Linked DNA regions of Homo sapiens: region 1 is linked to region 2. The links are contacts of gene promoters, found by promoter capture Hi-C in blood cells and fetal thymus (Javierre and others, 2016). All regions are on one chromosome and are shown on one strand. The core of a region is centred on a gene start or on the middle of the fragment in contact, and the rest is flanking DNA. Distances in the headings are between cores, read along the strand shown.

Region 1 (4,829 bases), core at 2,022-4,521, 41 kb after region 2:
TTCACCGGGGGTCTCACCCTCCCAGGGCCAGCCTCACCACAGCTCTGAGGGACCATCTCTGGGAGGGAGTCTAGGCCCAGCCTTGGATGGTGGCTGCTCCCCATGGTCCCCCTCCACAGTCCCACTTCAGCCTCTTCTTGTCTTCCCTGGGCCTCCCGACCTGTAGTCTCCAGGATGATAGAGCATGGGGAGGGAGCTCCCCAGTCCTCCCAATGTCCCTGGTAGCCAGCTCCACCCTAGGGCTTTATTAAGGCCTGAGCCCTCTTGGCAGCACTCTGAGGCCCCTCAGGGACGCAGGCCCTGTGCCTGTCTGTACTCTGTGCATTTGCCATTGCACCCTGGCTGTTCCACCCTGATCGTGTCCTTCCCTCAGTACTGGTTGGGTGGGGCTGTTGTCGGCAACTCAGGTTCACAGATGCTACCACTGAGCTCAGCCCAGGGGGGCCAAAGACGGCTCCAGGAAACAGATCTGTACTTCTCCTTCCCCCTCCTCATCCTCCCCTTTCCCCCTTGTCTTCCTCTTCCTTCTCCTTCCTCTTCCTCTTCTCCCTTCCTCTTCCTTCTCCTCACAGCGCTCTTCAGACACTCTGCCTTTCCATGCCAGTCCTCATGGGCTGGGTCCCTGTCTCGGTCTCCAGGAAGGGAGAATATGGGTCACAAGGAGAGGAACAGGGATGGCCCTTCCTACAAGGAGGTGCCTGGAAGCCCTCAAAAGACCTGGGAACCCCCGGGGGCCCCTACTCCAGCCATAAGACCCAACATGAGCTTCCTTGGGGATTGGGTGGCTGACCTCAGCAGGGGCAGAGCCAGGCTTTGGGTGGCCTAAGCTTATGCAGTTCGAGGTCCCTCTTTAAGAAAACGAATACAAAATGACAAGTACAAAAGTAGATGCAGGGCCTTGCAAAAGCCCAGGCAGTGAGAGACCCTGAAGCTGGACTTCATTCGCTTCCATGAGCAGGAAATTCACCTGCTCTTCCCGTCCAGGAGCACAGGACCTCCAGCATTGACTGCCTGGGCCAAAAGGGTGTAGAGGTTGTTGGGTTTTACCCAGGTGAAGCCTGAGGCCTAGAGAGGAGCAGAGCTGGTCCAAGGCCTCACAGTCGAGGGGAGGGAGCTGATCTGGGGCCTGACCATTTCTGCCCCACTCCTCCCACCGGGTTAGGCTTTCTTCTGTTTAGGTTTCCAGCCCAGCCCCCAGCAGCTCCTGTGTTCCTGACTCTGAGCCCAAGAAATCCTGGCCTTGGTTTATCCCTCTGAGGGCCAAGATTCTAGTTGATGCCCCAAGACACTCCATCCCTGGGGGGAGGCCAGTCTGCACCCACCTTTTGCCTGCTCAGCCAGGTCAGCCCAGCAACAGTGCCCTCCAAACCTCTCATCTGACATAGCTCATCCAGGCTGATGACTCCTATCCCTGAGTCACAGAGGAGAAAACAAGGCCCAGAGAGTAGAAGCAACCTACCCAAGGTCACACAGCAAGACCTGGCAGCAATAGCATCAAAGTCCAGGCCCCTCAACATCCCATCATGGGCCTGTGGCACCTTGGGAAGTAGGCCCTAGGCACACCCACGGCTTCTGCCTCTTCCTCGGGCCATCCTGGCTTTCCCCAGGCCCCTACAGGTAGCTGATGCGCATCGTGCTGGACTTCTCCCCAGTGGAAGCCTCTTGGGGTAGGAGCTGCTGCTCCTTGCTGGCCACTCTGCTGGGCGGCCGCTCCTGCCCGCTGGTGCCAGGCTGCGTGATCTGGCTGACCCGGCCGTTCATCTCCTTCCCCTTGCCCCCCTCCCTGCTCTCCTCCCCATCCTCCTCCTCCTCATCCTCCTCCTCAGTCTTCTCCGGGGGCCCCACAGTGGGCTCCTGGCTGCGCACACGGCGGGAGGGCCGCAGCAGGACCCTGCGGAAGCCCTGCTTGAAGCGGTAGGAGAGGAAGCCATAAAGGATGGGGTTGGCACAGCTGTTGGCATAGGGCAGCGCCACCACCAGGAAGTAGAGCCCAAAGAAGGCAGGCTCCTCGGGCAGTGGGCACACCACGTTGACGATGTTGAGCACGTAGAAGGGCATCCAGCAGAGCACGAAGAGCGCCACCACGGCCACCACCATGCGCGTGACCCTGCGTTCGGAGCGCCGCCGCCGCTGGCACGAGGGTGCCCACACCCGGCGCCCAGCTGAGCGCACCTTCACCACGATGAGCAGGTAGCAGAGGCAGATGACCAGCAGCGGCCCGAAGAAGCCCAGTGCGGCCGTGTAGATGATGAAGCCGGCTCGCCAGGCCGCCGCCGGCTCGGGCCACTGCATGTGGCAGGTGCTCATGCCGCGGGGCACTCCCGAGAAGACCACCACGGGCAGCACCACCACGGCTGAGGCCACCCACACAGCCGCGCTGACCGTGCGGGCCACCGGAGCTGTGCGCCAGCGGGCCGAGCGGGTGGGATGTACCACGGCCAGGTAGCGGTCCACGCTCATGACAGTCAGGCAGAATATGCTGGTGAACTGGTTGATGCCATCCACCGCCATGACCAGGCGGCACATGAGGGAGCCGAAGGGCCAGTAGGACAGGGCGTTCTGGGCGGCCAGGAAGGGCAGCCCCAGCATGAAGAGCTCGTCGGCCAGCGCCAGGTTGAGGATGTAGACGTTGGTGACTGAAGGGCTGGCCGTGTGCCGCAGGACCACATAGATGACCAGCGAGTTACCCAGCAGGCCCACCACGCACACCACCAGGTAGACCAGGGGGATCAGAACGCCACTGACGGCCAGCCCTGCCGGGCTTGGGCCCGCCGACACGTTGCCCAGGGTGGCATCTGGGGGCCAGGCCGAGGAGGCATTCTCAGGTTCTGAGGTCGTGGACACCGATGATGGATGAAGCATGTCCATGGCTGAGGGGAGGGTGGTCAGCAGTCAGCTATTTGCCTGGGGGAAGGAAAAACAGCTCGGTCACAGCAGAGAATGGCTTTCTCTGTGCTGCCCCCTCCCATCATGCCGAACCTGGGGACCTGCTGCACGCCCATCCTCCCATCGTCTGAGAGATTTCAGAAGATGGGAGGTGCTTAGCACGCACCATCTCATTCACCCCGCACAGCCCCGCAAGGCTGAGTCGTGTTATCCCCTTTTCTCAGATGAGGAAACTGAGGCTCAGGGAGGTGAGGTGATCATTCTCCATCGTGGAGTGAGGGTGTGGTGTGTGGCATGAAGTCATACTGTTTCACCAACAAATACCTGCCCTTCCTTTCTACATGTGAGGCCCCAGCTGGCAGGGCCCTGTGAAGTGGGTTGCATTGCCACCAACAGGTCTCGCCCTCACATCTGAAAAACACTGCTTCATATCACAGGACCTTCACCTGGAAACCTGCTCCCTAGATGAACTTCAGAGGATCCATGAACGCCCTAAACTCCAGGTGAAGGTTAATGTCAGATCTGTTATCAGATTCTTCAGGTTCCAAATGGAGTTAAGAACCACAGGCTTGGGGTGTCCCCTCCCCTGGGAGTCAGAGTCCTTAGGTGCCCCCTCAGCCTGGGCCATCCCACTGTGCCCCTCCCAAAGGCCCTGCCCAGGAAGGTTGGCTGTGAACCTGGGGGGCAGGTGGCTGAGGCCCCTTCTCCCCAGAGGCCGGCTGGGGTTGGAGAACTTTACAATTCACTTAGCAGATGCTATCCAAGAGTAGTCCCTCCCCCTGGCTGGAGGGGCCAGCTGCCTGGAAAAGGGGACATTTTCAGAAGGGATTTGCAGCATAAGCAAGAGCCCCCCCGCACTCCAGGTGCTTTCTTAGTGTCTTTCTCATCCCATGCCTGCGCAGAAGAAGCTGGGGCTCCTCTGGGCTCCCCTGCGAGACTCTGATCCCCTCCCCTGTGGAGTCTCCAGCCAGCTTTGGACCCTCCCCATTGCTTTCTGCCCCATCACTTCCGCACAGGCACGAGCTCTGCCTCAGTGTCAGGCATCAAATGAACCAGAGAAGCCTTCAGTGGACCAAGCCCAGTGCCAAGGGGGAATGTCAGGCCCCACTGAGGAAAGCCACGCTCAGGAGGAGGCCCAGGCAGAGCCAGGCTGGATGCAGGAGCCTCCTCTGGGGTCTGGACCACCCACTGCACCCCCTCTTCCTAATGATCCCCCAATCCCCTGGCTCCTGGCTGTCCTTGGATTCTCCCTGCAGAAAACCCTGAAGGGAAGATAAATCTCTCAGAGGAGAAGCCCTTCTTCTAATATCCCTGACACTGGGCCTGCACTTCCTCCCTCCAATGGGAGCTGTGGTCCGCACTGCCCTATATGGATGTCACTGTTGATGTGCAAAGCTCCTGGGAAGGGAAGGCACCCCAAATCCAAACAAACGCCTCTGAGCACGCCTGGCTACCCCTGCCCCAAGGACCTGGGGCTGCAGCGGGCTCAGAGTGCCAGGCTGGGTGAAGCCAAGGGTAGCAAGGAACCCCTAGGCCGTGGCTTCTCCAGCTGGCTGGGTTCAGAGCATCTCCTCCCTGTTCTTGGGGCTGGGAGAAGAGAAGGATTCTGAGCCTGGGTCATCCCCTAACCTGTCCTCAACCCATCCTTCTCCCCAACCCTTCATCAGGTCTCCTGAGCCTGGGACAGCAGCACTAAGGGAGGGGCACCTGGACAGTGGGCTAGAGGATCCTAACAGTGCTGCCAGCTGCTCATCACTGAGCCCTGACTGTGCCAGGTGCCAGGCTAAGCTGGTGAGCTGCAGTATCCTATGATGTCCTACGAGGGAGGCACTACTGTCATCCCCACTGCACAGATGGGGAGCAAACGTGAGGTCACATGTTCTGGTCACAGCTAGGAAGGGGCAAATCTGGAAAGATCTGTAGTGACCACCTCTACGCCCATT
Region 2 (5,005 bases), core at 725-3,224:
GCAGAAAGTTCTAGAAGCATAGCCTTCCCAGGGAGGTACTAGGTAACTCCTCTAGCCCTTACTACGCACCAGGCCCTATTCTAAGTACACATGTTGATTCCCGACTATGCTGAAGGCAGTTTCAGGTTCAAGAGCATCAGCATTCCCTGAGAGCTGGTCAGAAATGCAGATGCTCAGGCCCCAGCCCAGCCCTCCCGAGCCAGAATCTGTATTTTCACCACGTCCCCAAGCAACTCGAGTGTGCACAGAAGTTTGAGAGGCCGCATGTTACCTCAGTGAATCCTGACAACAGCACTTGCAGACTAGGACTCTTATCCTATTTTGCAGATGAAAAAACTGAGGCACGGGGAGGTTAAATAACTCGCCCAGGGCCGCACACAGGTAGGTGATAAGTGTCAGAGATGGGATGTGGGCCTGGGCCATCTGGCTCCTAAGCACATGCTCCTAACTACCAGGCTGCCGCCACCTTTGGAAGAAGAGAGCCATGAGAATTTGAGCTATGGCTGGCCGCATCTGTGCCTGCTCTGGCCGTGTGCCTCTGGCCTTCCAGAACCCACTCTGTCCTTCCTAATGTTTCTCTGACCGTGGCCTCTCCAGGGAGAGTCTGAATCATGATTTTCCCAGGCATGGAAGGTAGGAACACCTGCCAGTCAGCATGGAGCGTTTGTCAAGCGTCTGTATTATCCTGGCTCAGGGCTGGGAGTTATAGCAGCCACAAAAGATGCCCAAGACTCCACCCAGCCCTCAAGGAGCCCAGAGTTTAGCTGCAGGGACAGGAAATAGGCATGGGAACGAATGCAATATAATCACAGCTAAAGTTTGTATGAGATGTGCAGATGCTCCTGGGCAGCTGCCTCTTCAGGGCAGGCTTCATGGAGAAGAGGGCTTTTTTTAAAAATTTAATTTAATTTAATTTAATTTAATTTTATTATTGTTTGTGGGGTTGGGGGAGGAGGGGAGAAGAGGGCTTTGAGCCAGGCCTACCCAGGGCAAGTGCCAGAAGGACAGAGGCGGGGAGGACACAGGTGCAGACCGGCCTAAAGCAGACACTTGGAGCTGAAAACATCCTGAATCCAACCGTCCACAACTCCCCTCTACAGCATCTCCTCAAGAGGGCCAGACTCCCCTGAATTCTCCCTACGGCAAGGAAGTCATTCCTCGCCAGGGGAGCGAGATCATGGCCTGTCTGGTGTGCACGTGTGTGTGTCTTTGCCACAGGTGTGTTCTTTCCAGAACTCCTGTGAACAGGTGGGCCTCCTTTGTGCAAACCTGAGCCATGCACATCCAGCTCAGCTGATAGCTGGGCCAGGAGAGGTGACCTCACCGCCCATGCTCAAGGTCTCTCTGTTGCACTGGACAGGGCCCCTCCAGCCTTAGGCCCTTGAAGTCCTGGCTCCTTGGAAATGCCCCTGCTACTGGGGGGACCCTCAACTGCACCAAAGGACCGCAATGGAAAGGGGGCACTCAGCGCCAGAGCCTCCCCGCCCCCCCACCTCCTGCCGAGAGGAAGCCCAAAACTGGCACATCCACACACACAGCCACACGCCCCCTTTGAAGGCACTGCACCGCTGCGTGTGTTGTACACGGAGCCTGCGCTTCCTGGGCCAGAAGTGAAGCTAAGATGCACTCCACGCATTCAACCGTTGAACCCTCATTGCAGCCACCAGAGTTCTGTGCCACCCCTGCTCCGTTCCCGCGGTGGAGGGAGGACGCCTAGGCCTTGGGAGGGATCGGGAGCGCGTAGAGTGACACCCTGGGCTCCACATCCACGACACCTTCTCCCCCATCTGGACTGCCCAACTACTTCATGCCTACCTCGGGACTTTGCATGCAAAAGGCGCTCAATCATCCCTTCAAGAATAATTGAGTTAGAAAACAGCAGGGCACAATGACAGGTGGGCCCAGAAGTTGCCACCAGAGGGCAGTGCGCGCACCTCCCCAGCCTCCTCGAGACTTGTGCTGCAGGAGGGAGGTGAAGTCGCGGCCAGGAGCGTGACCACGCTGGACCGTGTCTGCTGCCTCCCCGGGAGTCGCAAGTGCCCACAGGACAAGCAGGGGAAGCAAACTGGGCCCCTGGCTTCTGGGAAGACAGCATGAGGGCAGACCAAGGAAAGGCAGCCGAGACCAGCAGACCTGCAAGGGATCTCGGAGGCTCTCAGGCCCAGCTGCTTGCTGAATAGGTAATGATGCATCTGGGCCCAGAGAGAGGCAGCTCTCAGCCTTAGGTCACACAGCAGGGCAGGAGTGTGAACTCTGGCCTCCAGCCTCCGAGGTCCCCTCATCCCACCTAACCCCCAGACTCAGAGAAGGACACTCCACCCAAGCAATTTCTCACCTTCCCCTTAATTGGTACAGATCAGAAACGGGAGCACCTCCTTCTCCTGGCCCCCACGTTTAGGGTTCCCAGGACAGCCTCCGACCCACCCTCTGCCCCTCCTGTATCCCTTTCCTCGGCCCTGGGTGACAGCACCCCTGCCCAGACCAGCTCTGACTGCCTCCAAGTGCCAAGCGCTCACAGTCCTCTACCCCCAGCCCCAGCCGGCACCCTCAGTCTCGTCCCACCATCTCTCTGCCTCCTGAGTCCCTCCCTGAGTCCCATGCCCTCTGCCCCAGCGACTGCCCTTGTAAAGTGAAAATCCGACCCCACCCAACATTTCCTGCTGCACTTATGCAGTATCCAGGCCTCCTCGCCATGGAAAGCCCAGGCCTGCGGCCTCTCTGGCTTCTTCTCTCCCTTGCCCCACTGCCCCTGGCTGTCTGGCAGTTCCTGGAAGTCTCCAAGCTCTTCCCTGCCTCGAGCCCCTGCCCACGTTCTCTCTGCCCCAGGCCTCAGCCTGCGGTCACTTTCTCAGGGCAGCTTTCCCAGCACCCCGTGCATCTAAAGTGGATGCTGCCCTGCCCATCACTGGATCAGGTGCTCATATTCCTAATTGACTGGGCATAGGTGGGAGGATTTGCCTGGTGTCTGTCTTCCTGGCTGGACTGCGGTGCCTCAAGGCCACAGGTGAAGTGCATGGAGTCCCACAGCTTCTCTGAGCCTAAAGCTTTGTGTGACAAATGCATTCAAACTGCATTTATTGAAAGATGGGAAGCAAGGGAGGAAGGGAAGGGGTGCGGGAGGGAGGGAGGACAATCTTGGTGTTGGGCTGAGGTGGCGTCTGTCCCCTTTGCATGAGTTCAGTAAGGATTTACTGAGCACCTGCTGGCAGCAGCATGCTGGGCACTGTGGGAATGACAAGGATGTGTGGGATTTGAACTCTAACTCAGAGTACCTTCTCTTGGTATGGAGGTAGGACAAGTATGCAAATGATTATAACTAAGGAAATCGTGTCAATGTGGTGACCCTTGGCCTGAACTTTCAGAACAGTCCTGGTATCACGTGAGAAGAGTAAATACATGTGATTTGATTCTAAACTGGCTAAGACGTTATTAAAGAAAGTAACAAGACAGAAAAAATACTTTTTCAGGCTGTCTGTGCAGTTTTGTCTTTAGAAAATGTGGTCATAATGAGTATGAGAGGCATAGAGCGTGCCCAGTTTGAAACGCCTGCAAATGACAAAACACAAAAACACAAACCCAAAAATAGAACGTGGCTTGGCTGGAGCCATAGGGGAGGCTCCAGAGGATGTGGCATCGGTGCTGTGGGCAGTGGGTCATTGTGCAAAGGCAGTGAGGGCTGGGTCCCCATCCCACCTTGGCCACTTCCTAGCTGTGTGATCTTGGATAAGTTCCTTTACCTCTCTGAGCCTGTTTCTGCATCTGAAACATGCGACTACTCCCCACCTCTTAGGTTCATGGGGATGGCATGAGATTGTGCACACAGAGAAGCCATCACCCACAGTTCCTGGCATGCAGGAGGCACCTGAGGAAGGCTGGGTTCTTCCTCTTCTCTGGGAGGATGGGGATGAGTGTTCCATAGGCCGGAATGGGTCGAGAGAAAGGGCCCAAGACAGAGGGAGCTGCAAGAGCCAAGGCACAGACTAGGTGGCTGAAGGCAGTTGGGGAACAACAATTATCACCAGAGCCTAATATTTCCCCAGCTCCATCTCCTTCCCTCCACGCCCAGTGCCAGAGGGGCACTGCTTATATAGGGGTTCTGCTTACAGAGGGGTTCTTGCTTACAGAGGGGTTCTGTTTACAGAGGGATGCTGTTTACAGAGGGGTTATTGCTTACAGAGGGGTTCTCGCTTACAGAGGGGTCCTTGTTTACAGAGGGATGCTGTTTACAGAGGGGTTCTTGTTTACAGAGGAGTTCTGTTTACAGAAGGGTTCTTGTTTTCAGAGGGGTTCTTGCTTACAGAGGGGTTCTGTTTACAGAAGGATTCTTGTTTTCAGAGGGGTTCTTGCTTACAGATGGATTCTGTTTACAGAGGGGTTCTTGCTTACAGAGAGGGGTTCTTACTTACAGAGGGGTTCTGTTTACAGAGGGGTTCCTGTTTTCAGAGGGGTTCTTGCTTACAGAGGGGTTCTGTTTACAGAGGGGTTCTTGCTTACAGATGGATTCTGTTTACAGAGGGGTTCTTGTTTACACGTTTACAGAGGGGTTCTTGTTTACAGAGGGGTTCTTGCTTACACAGGGGTTCTGTTTACAGAGGGATTCTGTTTACAGAGGGTTCTTGCTTACACAGGGGTTCTGTTTACAGAGGGGTTCATATTTGTTAGCGGGACGCTGCCATGTCATCCTTCACTCTGCATCCAGAGCATCCTTGCACACAACTCTTCAGGGGCTCCCCACTGCCCTCAAGACCCTATCCAAGCATCCTGAGTCTGGCTTCAAGGCTGTCCCTAACTGGGCCCCCTCTTGAAGATCCCCCTTTGCATCCAATCCTCTGGCCACACAGAACGCAGAATCGCTTGCATGCCTCCCCCTCCTCCCAGGGTTTGCCCCCTCCCTGCCCTGCATGTGGCATCCTTCCTTTGCCTTCTTATCCCGCGGACTCATCATCCTTCAGGCCCCGGGTTCACATCCTCCGTGAAGCCTCCCAGGCCTTTACCCTTGCTTTCT

Evidence for each region. Contacts are between HindIII fragments. The CHiCAGO score rates a contact against its expected background, and 5 or more counts as called.
Region 1: a fragment that was not itself captured here is called in contact with the fragment with the promoter of IL2RB-AS1 in region 2 in 1 of 17 cell types (naive CD4 T cells); the score reaches 5.3 in naive CD4 T cells.

What each region holds. Positions count from the first base shown.
Region 1 is chr22:37,204,936-37,209,764 of GRCh38, forward strand. SSTR3 (somatostatin receptor 3) reads right to left here. Exons shown (of 2, transcript NM_001051.5): 2 at 1-2,904. The coding sequence starts at 2,868. The coding sequence ends at 1,612. Among named protein-coding and RNA genes, the nearest start is that of SSTR3, 5.1 kb to the right of the region's middle. The HindIII fragment of the contact is 4,892 bases long and covers 826-4,829 here.
Region 2 is chr22:37,164,785-37,169,789 of GRCh38, forward strand. It overlaps IL2RB-AS1 (IL2RB and C1QTNF6 antisense RNA 1), which reads left to right and starts at 1,975. Exons shown (of 2, transcript NR_199008.1): 1 at 1,975-2,180. It also overlaps a transcript of IL2RB not described here. RefSeq lists enhancers at 2,146-2,195, 3,510-3,569. The HindIII fragment of the contact is 5,870 bases long and covers 1-3,042 here.